Regions from separate parts of the Homo sapiens genome. Here region 2 is linked to region 1. Evidence: promoter capture Hi-C in 16 types of primary human blood cells and fetal thymus (Javierre and others, 2016). All regions are on one chromosome and are shown on one strand. Each heading gives the region's core, a stretch centred on a gene start or on the middle of the fragment in contact. The rest is flanking DNA. Distances are from core to core; before and after follow the strand shown.

Evidence for each region. The method cuts DNA at HindIII sites, captures the fragments that hold promoters and counts their contacts. A CHiCAGO score of 5 or more calls a contact.
Region 2: a contact is called between a fragment that was not itself captured here and the fragment with the promoter of SLC43A3 in region 1, in 4 of 17 cell types (monocytes, erythroblasts, activated CD4 T cells and 1 more). The highest score is 9.7, in monocytes.

What each region holds. Positions count from the first base shown.
Region 1 is chr11:57,425,099-57,430,003 of GRCh38, reverse strand. It overlaps SLC43A3 (solute carrier family 43 member 3), which reads left to right and starts at 2,883. Exons shown (of 14, transcript NM_199329.3): 1 at 2,883-2,942; 2 at 3,352-3,416; 3 at 3,652-4,015; 4 at 4,334-4,463. The coding sequence starts at 3,832. RefSeq lists a silencer at 2,764-3,123 and enhancers at 3,366-4,158, 3,267-4,466, 4,159-4,905. The HindIII fragment of the contact is 9,438 bases long and covers 1-4,905 here.
Region 2 is chr11:57,682,990-57,687,767 of GRCh38, reverse strand. All of the region lies in intron 3 of ZDHHC5 (zDHHC palmitoyltransferase 5), which reads right to left. Among named protein-coding and RNA genes, the nearest start is that of ZDHHC5, 17 kb to the right of the region's middle. The HindIII fragment of the contact is 5,752 bases long and covers 1-4,662 here.

The DNA.
Region 1 (4,905 bases), core at 1,634-4,133:
TTGTTTGTGCCAGGGGAATGATGGAGTGCAGCTCACTTATACTGCCCTCTTTGGCAAACCCTCTTTCCCTAACCTAAACATATCCATCTTCCCACTCTGTCCATAAAAACATCCATAGGGTGGATCCTGGATATCCAGACTTGCTGATGATGGGAAGGAAAACCACCTCCAGCATTGGTACTTGGGCAGTAGGATGCAGGAGATCCAGTTCTATGCTCCCTCTTCCCCTCAAAGCAATGTCTCATGGCTGGCATCCCCAGACCCTGGACTGGTCCTTACCAGCCAGTTGACTGGACCTCAGAAGGGTTTTGAGCAGTTAAGTGAAGCCATCCAGTGGGAACCATGGAAATAAACTCTTGCAGGAGAATGGCGATGGCTTGGAAGCAGATGATGCCTCTGTGAGAGATGATGAGTGTCTGCATAGAGCAGTGGCCACGGATAGATAGGAGAGATATTAAGGGGTGAAATCAATAGGACATGATTGATTGATGTGGGCTGAATTCTTAATGCCCTCACTTAGATGGCGACGCTGGCCTCAAATCTTTCCACTTTCTTCACCACCCTGTGCTCTAGCTGGTTCCTAAATGTTATTGTTTTGTTGAGGTTCCGTGCCTTTCAATGTGCTGTGCTAGCATCTGCCTGGAAGACCATTCCCACACTCCAGAAATCTTGGGTTTCTTTGTCTGTCTCTCCCACAAGAGAATGAGCCCCTTGAGAGCAGGCACTGAATCTCTTCTCTACGAATCCCGGCACTTGGCACAGAGCCTGAGGTACCACATGTATTTGTTGAACCAATCAGTCAATTAAAAAAAAAAAGGTGTGAGATGATGAGGAAGGAGGCGAAGAGAAAAGGATGAAGACATCGGGTGCACCGTCAGACCTTATTATAATCACTTCTCTCTCTGATGTTACTCATTAATCCTCATTGGAGCCACGCAGGAGAGTGATCAGAATAGCATCTGCCTTTTCTAGCTGCTGGAATTCGAACCAAAGAACATGGGAATGGTTCAGAGGATATTCTAATTTCCTGTCCCATCAGTTCAGTAAGACTTGTGTTAGTGGAGGCCACGTCTTCTGCAGACATTGATGGGAGATGTGGAGTGGAGGCTCTAAGAGTCAAGAGAGGTAACAAGATAAGGTGGACAGAACCCTGGACGACCTGCCCCGTGTCCCGTGCTTCAGTCCTGGATGTACAGATAGCCCATGAGCTAGATCTTTCTGGCAGGCTCCTGCAGATTAACATTCTAAAATCTGTCTCTTTACTTTGACTTTTTTCTGTTTCTCCCTTGCTACTTCCACACTTACTGATCCCCCCAGGAGACTAAAATGTATGCCAGAGCAGAAGATAGGGCATGCATTAATTTCAGAGTCTTTGTGTCTTGCAGTAAAATAGAAAATCTTGCATCTTAAGCCCTGTTTGTCCTGGGATGCTATATTTTTGTGGATTTTCTCCCATAAATAATGTTATTTTAAGAAAAGACTTGTTTTCTCTAATGTCCAAATGTTTGTTAAGACGGGGTGATGAGAGCATACGTTTCAGAGTTGGGAAGGTACTGCAGCTTTGTAGAATGACCGTGGGCAAGTTCCTTTGAAATTCCTCCCCAGAGCTGCTTCTCTGGCTCTGTCTACATAACTGCAGACTAGAAAATCTACTACCCTACAATCTGCCTATAGCACCTGCGCCATGCAGGGACCTCATACACCCATCTTATACTTCTTTTATGACAATTCCTATAATTAAGGTACTATTGTCCTCGTCTTACAGGTGGGGCAGCCAAAGAGCTTGCCTCAGGTTGTATAACTAGTGAGTAGCTTGGGGTACAGGACCCCAGCCACCCTTCCTCCATTCAGTCAAGTCACTAGGGTGGTTGCAGACTTTTATCTTTTGTGCTTTGGTGGTGAGCTGGAAAATCCTCAGTTCTGGCTGTCCCCTATCGTAACCTCTATTTCTTCCTCTTAAAAAAAAGAGGAGTGGGCTTGGAATAGCTGGAGTTCCTGGGCCCTCAGGGGATCCAGGTAGCTGGGGTTGGGAGTCTGCAGACTGCATCTAATACGCAAGAAGCTCTCCCCAAACTGAGCTTTTGGCAAGGAAACGGCCACACAGGCCAAAGAAGACGTCAGCTCACGTGCTCTGGGCTGGAAGGATAGTAAGGCAGCTGCTTAGTAAGGCCTCACGCTGATCACAAGCTCCGATGAGCAATTATATATGTCTTTGATTAATAAAAAATGGGGCAATGAATGGTTAATCAATGCAGTCTGGCGGGAAGGCTCTTTCAGAACCTGGGGGGCGGGGGTGAGGCAGGGAGTCATCTAAGGGGTTTTTGGGAGTGAAAATATGGGGCAGTCCTCCAGGGGATGGTTTCTGAAAAGCCCTCAGTCCTGGTTCTTGGCTTCCTGATTCTGTGGTTGGGATTTTTTTGGCAGCTCTGGGAGTGTGAAACTGGGAGAGACGGTTAAGCTGGTGAGCAAATAGGAAAAATATGTTCCCTGCCAACCCAGCGGTCAAGGCAAAATGCACAAATAGAGTGTGTGTGTCCCTATGCCCTCATGTGCTGTCTGTGTGTCCTCTGGGTGCTGGGTGTGACATTTTCCCTAGGTGGGCCTGAGCGAGTAACAGCATTCAACTAACTTGGTTAGGGGAGGCAGAGGCAAGGGGGCTGGGAGGCTGAAAGGCAGCGAGGAGGGAGGGAAAGACACCGCTGGGGTTCTAGGGGGTTCTAGAGGGAGAAGTTTCAAGAGGGAGAGGTAAAAAGGGCGCGGGAGGCTGTGAGCAAGGGAAAAGAAGAAGGAAGTGATGGAGAGTGGGAGGTCTGCCCCAGCCCCTTCCGGGCGGGCAGGAGGGGGCGGAGGCGAGCAGGGGACTGGGAGGGGCTGCGAGAGGCGCGAATGCGAACCTGGCCCGTGCGGAAAGGGCGCGGAGAGCCCCGGCGCGGAGCAGGCGGGTAGGGCGAAGGGTCCCCTTTCGGGCGCCATGGGGCGCCGAGCGCGGCCTGGCCCCTCGGGCTCCTCTGCGGGGAGGGCAGGCCGCAGGCTGGAGCGGGGTGCGGAGGCTGGCGGGGAGCGGCCCCCGGAGGCTTTCCTGGTAGAAGTTGATGCGAGGAAGGGCGGCGGGGACCAGGTTTGCGAGTCCTAGGCGAGGGTCATGGGAGTTGGGGGTATTTCTGGCAGTAGAATGGCCTGCGTCGTGACTAAACTAGCCCTGTGACCTTGGGCAAGTTCCTGAAATCCATGGGAGCTTTTGTTTCATTGTCAGTAAACTGAAGATAACACCAACTTGGCAGCGGGAGTTTGTGTCTTCTGTATGAAATCTCCCTGCCTCTGCACCTGGTTGAGTTGCTGTCATTATTTTAGGGGACGGTATTCAGAATTCGAGCGCAGGAGCTCCGCTTCTCCACCTGCTCCCGGGGAGCTATTGGGTAAGTCGTTTATCTCACCTGTGACTCCAGGTGGCCATCAAGACCTGCCTCTCTACTTGCCACGTGGTTACTCAAATGCAGTGCCTAAGATGATGTATTGGAGTATTTATTCCCCACATTTGCTGCCAGCGGCCATGATCATCCTGCCTCTTAATGCACCTCACAAATAACTCTAGTCTACCTTTCCCTTTCCCGCAGGCCTCCTCTTCCAGCAGCCTCTATCTTTATTCTACAGGATCCAGAGAATCACCCGCTGATGGTTTTTGCCCAGGCCTGAAACAACCAGAGAGCTACGGGAAAGGAAGGGCTTGGCTTGCCAGAGGAATTTTCCAAGTGCTCAAACGCCAGGCTTACGGCGCCTGTGATCCGTCCAGGAGGACAAAGTGGGATTTGAAGATCCACTCCACTTCTGCTCATGGCGGGCCAGGGCCTGCCCCTGCACGTGGCCACACTGCTGACTGGGCTGCTGGAATGCCTGGGCTTTGCTGGCGTCCTCTTTGGCTGGCCTTCACTAGTGTTTGTCTTCAAGAATGAAGATTACTTTAAGGATCTGTGTGGACCAGATGCTGGGCCGATTGGCAATGCCACAGGGCAGGCTGGTAAGGGCAGGGATGACTTTTCTAAGGAAGTTAAGTCTGGCTCCCACGTGGTGGCAAGGAGCAGGAAGGACTCTGCCCCCTGCCCACCCCTCTTTCTATGATGAGAGGAAGGGTCAGCAGCTCTCACCCCACTTGATCTGGGAAGTGCCTGGGAGGGAGGCACCAGCTCCTGAGGGGTAATTAGGGGCAGCCACATTTCAACTCAGCTTAAGGGACAAGTTTGCGACCGACAAGCTGTCTGAGGTGGAGGGGAGCCCAGCCTGTGTGCTCATTTGGCAGGAAGGCTGGGATGCATGGGAGACCTTTTTTCTACTCCAGACTGCAAAGCCCAGGATGAGAGGTTCTCACTCATCTTCACCCTGGGGTCCTTCATGAACAACTTCATGACATTCCCCACTGGCTACATCTTTGACCGGTTCAAGACCACCGTGGCACGCCTCATAGCCATGTAAGTCCCAAAGGCCAGCCCAGGCAAAGGTGGGTAAGAGGAATCCTTCAGGCAGCAGCCTAGCTTGGAGTGAAATCCAGAGTCAGACAGCCCGGCCACCCTGCCAGGCACCACACCTGCAGCTCGCTCCCAGCAGCTGTTAGGAACAGCCCCAGGCAGCGGGACTCTCTCTAGACTTGCCCACTTCACCACAGCCCCACTTCCATTTCCTTACCTCGTTCCCTGCTCTGCATAAATGTGGCTTCCCTATCACGTGCTGAATTGAGCCGGAGGCCAGGGTGACTTCCTGTAAGGGCTGGCTTGGAGCCAGGGTTACAAAATTAGCAAAACCTAAAATTGCTCTTCTCTTCCTTCACCCCAAGGATCCTTGTCCTCATCCCCTGCACAGCCTCACATCCAGGTTGCCCAGGCTTCATCCTCATCCTCCTCACCGCCCCCCCTC
Region 2 (4,778 bases), core at 537-3,036, 260 kb before region 1:
AAAAAAAAAAACTTTCCCAAAATGTCTTCCCCTACTCTATGAATTTTCTCTACATATACGTATTTCAGTATTATTTGTTGCACAAGCATAAATGCCCTTTCTCTCAATTTTCAGCTATCAGAAACCCACCATCCCATTTCAAAACTTAAAAGACATTATTTGCCTTCTCATATACAGTTAGCAATTTTTTTTTTCTTGAGACGGAGTCTTGCTCTGTTACCCAAGCTGGAGTGCAAGGGCGTGATCTTGGCTCACTGCAACCTCCACCTGCCGGGTTCAAGTGATACTTCTGTCTCAGCCTCCCAAACAGCTGGGATTACAGGCGCACGCCACTTCGGCAGCTAATTTTTTGTATTTTTAATAGAGACGGGGTTTTACCGTGTTCCCCAGGCTGGTCTCAAACTCCTGAGCTCAGGCAATCCACCTGCCTCAGCTTCCCAAAGTATTAAGATTACAAGCATGGGCCACCGCACCCAGAGCAATTTTTATTATTAACCTAGAAAAAAAAAATGTGGGAAGGAAAAATTAAATAGATGATAGTGTGGAATTAAAAATTAAGTTTTCAAATTTTACTGATTTCTTTACATAGCATTTTTTCATATTTACATCACAAGAAATGCTAGGTAAAGAACTGTACAGCTGGGTACGGTGGCTCATGCCTGTAATCCCAGCACTTTGGGAGGCCAAGGAGGGCAGATGACTTGAGGCCAGGAGTTCAAGACCAGCCTGGCCAAAATGGCGAAACCCCATCTCTACAAAAAATATAAAAATTAACCAGGGGTGGTGGCACACGCCTGTAATCCCAGCTACTTGGGAGGCTGAGGCAGGAGAATGGCTTGAATCTGGGAGGCAGAGGTTGCAGTAAGCCAAGATCATGCCACTGCACTCCAGCCTTGGTGACAGAGTAAGACACTGTCTGGAAAAAAAAAAAAAACACACACACACACAAATATATACTGCAGATACATGGTATACATAAATATACACATATATTTTTTAAGTCTTCAAAATATTGCAAGGATATATACCACAATATAACAGTAGTTAGCTCTGGTCTGTGAAATTATAGGTAATGTTTTGCCTTTTTTGTACTTCGTACATAATGAATGTGCACTACTTATTGAAATCTTTAAATAAAAGATTTTTTCTTTTGGTCAGGCACAGTGGCTCATGCCTGTAATCCCAGCACTCTGGGAGGGTGAGGCAGGTGGATCATTTGAGGTCAGGAGTTCCAGAGTAGCTTGGCCAACATGGTGAGACCCCATCTCTACTAAAAATACAAAAATTAGCCAGGCACGGTGGCACGCTCCTGTAATTCCAGCGACTCGGGAGGCTGAGGTAGAATAATTGCTTGAACCCGAAAGGCAGAGTTTGCAGTGAGCCGAGATGGAGCCACTGCACTCCAGCCTGGGCAACAGAGAGTGAGACTCTGTCTCAAAAAAAAAAAGATTTTTTTCTTTTAAAGGGAAAAAATTCAAATGCTATTTTTCTTTTAAGAGAGTTTTGCTCTATCACCCAGGCTGGAGTGCTGTGCTGCGACCACAGCTCACTGCAGCCCTGAACTCCTGGGCTCAACTGATCCTCCAACCTCAGCCTCCCAAGTAGCTGGAACCGCAGGTGGGCACCAGCATGCCCAGTTGCAATGCTCCTTATTTTGAAATGTCTGATCCTTCTACATCATCATCTACCAGAAGTGATCTCTTTGATTACTCTTACACAATGTATTTGTTTTTTGTTTGTTTGTTTTGAGATGTAGTCTCACACTGTCGCTGGAGTGCAGTGGCGCAATCTCAGCTCACAGTAACCTCCACCTCCCGGGTTCAAGCGATTCTCCTGCCTCAGCCTCCCGAGTAGCTGGGATTACAGGCATGCGCCACCACGCCCGGCTAATTTTGTATTTTTAGTAGAGACAGGGTTTCTCCATGTTGGTCAGGCTTGTCTCGAACTCCCAACCTCAGGTGATCCACTCACCTGGGCCACCCAAAGAGTTGGGATTACAGGCGTGAGTCACGGCACCCGGCCCACGGTGTATTTGTTTATAGAGGTGTCTTCCTATCTTCCTTTCTAGTCTGAGCTATTTGAAAGGAATGACCTTTTTATTTTTTATTTACTTTTCTTCAGATGGAGTTTTGCTCTTATCGCCCAGGCTAGAGTGCAATGGGGCAATCTCGGCTCATCACAACCTCCACCTCCCAGGTTCAAGCAATTCTCCTGTCTCAGCCTTCCAAGGAGCTGGGGTTACAGGCACGTGCACTACCATGCCTGGCTAATTTTTATATTTTTAGTAGAGACGGGGTTTCGCCATGTTGGCCAGGCTGGTCTCGAACTCCTGACCTCAAGTGATCCGCCCTGGCCTCCCAAAGTGCTGGGATTACAGGCGTAAGCCACCACGCCCGGCCAGCAATGACCTTCTTAAAAACCCCAAATGACCATCATAGTGCCTTCCATAATACATCAATAAATATTTGATGAATGAACATTAAAGGCTCATTAAAATAGCCTTTCTTGGCTTTAGGGACACAAAGTTCTTTTCCCTCACCCAATCTTTGAAGGGAAGTCACAAACAAAGCACAATGATGTAGGCTTTGGGAGCACAATGAAGTTCTTTTTTTCTTTCTTTTTGAGACGGAGTCTTGCTGTTGCCCAGGCTGGAGTGCAATGGCACAATCTCGGCTCACTGCAAACTCTGCCTCCCCCACTCAAGCGATTCTCCTGCCTCAGCCTCCCAAGTAGCTGGGATCACAGGCACCCACCACCATGTCGGGCTAATTTTTGTATTTTTCAGTAAAGACAGGGTTTTACCATGTTGACCAGGCTGGTCTTAAAGTCCTGACCTCAGGTGATCTGCCCACCTTGGCCTCCCAAAGTGCTGGGATTAAGATGTGAGCCACCACGCCAAGCCTACAGTGAATTTCAGAAAAACTTCATCTCAGCAGAGTTGCCAGCCCGAAACTACTTGTCTCACTCTTGCAAAATAACCTCACATTTGAGAGGAAAACTACATGTCATCAGTGACAACCTTTGTCAACTTATTTTCTTTCTACCTTTTAGTCCACTGATGATGGTTCTCTCCCCTCCTATTCCAGAAAGAGCCTACTTCTTCTGCAAGCATAACCTTCAGAAATGTACTGGAAAGCATCTCCTTCCTCTAAAAGTCCAATTTCAATTATCACCTTTCTTCAACCTCAGCTTCTCTCCTCTGGTTCCATCTCTGCATGCTACAAACAAGCTAAATTCTGTATCCTAAAAAACTCTCTCCTCCCGTAGCAATTCTCCTGCCTCACCCTCCCGAGTAGCTGGGATTACAGGCATGTGCCACCACACCCGGCTAATTTTTTGTATTTTTAGTAGAGATGGGTTTTCTCCATGTTGGTCAGGCTGGTCTCAAACTCCCGACCTCGGGTGATCTGCCCACCTCAGCCTCCCAAAGTGCTGGGATTACAGGCATGAACCACTGTGCCCAGCCAGCTTACTTCTTAAAAGAGTAATTTTGGGCCAGGCGCGGTGGCTCACGCCTATAATCCCAGCACATTGGGAAGCTGAGGCAGGCGAATCACAAGGTCAGGAGTTCAATACCAGCCTGGCCAATATGGAAACCCCATCTCTACCAAGAATAGGTATAGAAAAATTAGCTGTGTGTGGTGGCCCGCGCCTGTAGTCCCAGCAATTCTGGAGGCTGAGGTGGGAGATCACCTGAGCCAGGGGGGGGTCAAGGCTGCAGTGAGCCGTGATTGCGCCACTGCACTCCAGCCTGGGCAACAGAGTGAGACGCTGTCTCAAAAAAAAAAAAAAAAATTAATTATTAGTTACCAAAAAAAATGGGAAATTTGAGTTTCCATACTATTGGAGCTCTCTAATTTCTAATACTGCCAACCATCGGCTATTTGATGAATTTTCCTTAGTTCCCACTTTGTTCTATTTCTCCTCCTCCTAACTCTTCTTACTCAATCCTTCTTCATGGCTCTTCCTCCTCCTCTGATCGTTACAAAAATGTCAGTGCTGATCAGGTCTAACCTCAGTTCTTTCATAATCTCACAGTATTTTCTCTGGACAATCTTACTCCTGTTGTTTCAAATACCACATGGATGAAGATTATTAAATCAAGGTCTTCAACACTGACTATTCAATTGCCCACTGGGTAACTATCTGACTGATTCAAGTATATCAAATTCAACATGTCTAAGAGTATTTATTTTCTGTCTTCCCTCCAAACCCGTTTGACATTCTTGTATCTCATATTCAGGTTTATAAAAATCAGTATCCAACTTATCTCCCAGTTATGAACCTTGAAACTACTCTAGATAATTCCTCCACTTTCTCTCTCTTGCCCAATAAAATCATGAAAAGTCATGAAAAATTATTGAGTCTACTACTAAAAAATCTGTAAATCCAGCCTTGAATTCAAGTTCTCATCTGGTTTATTTCCACAGCCTCCCAAAAGGTAGCTGTAATTCTTACACGAATTATTTTTCTAAAAGGAATTCTGATGTTGAGTCCTCCAATTAAAGACCTCTTCCTATCCAAAGGAAAATGTATGATCTATTTAACTTAGTATGTAAAGTCCTTGACAATTTGGCTCTGGGTTTACCTCCCATCCCTCTGGTCACACCATGCATAACATCCTCTAGCCCCACTAAGTTTGCCATTTCATGGCTACAAGCTTCTGCATGTGCTGTTTCCTCTGCCTAAAAATGCCCTTCCCTCCTATATTCTACTTGGTAAAGTCTTTCCCACCTATTTTCAGCAGCATTTCCCCAATTTATTTGGGCAAAATATGT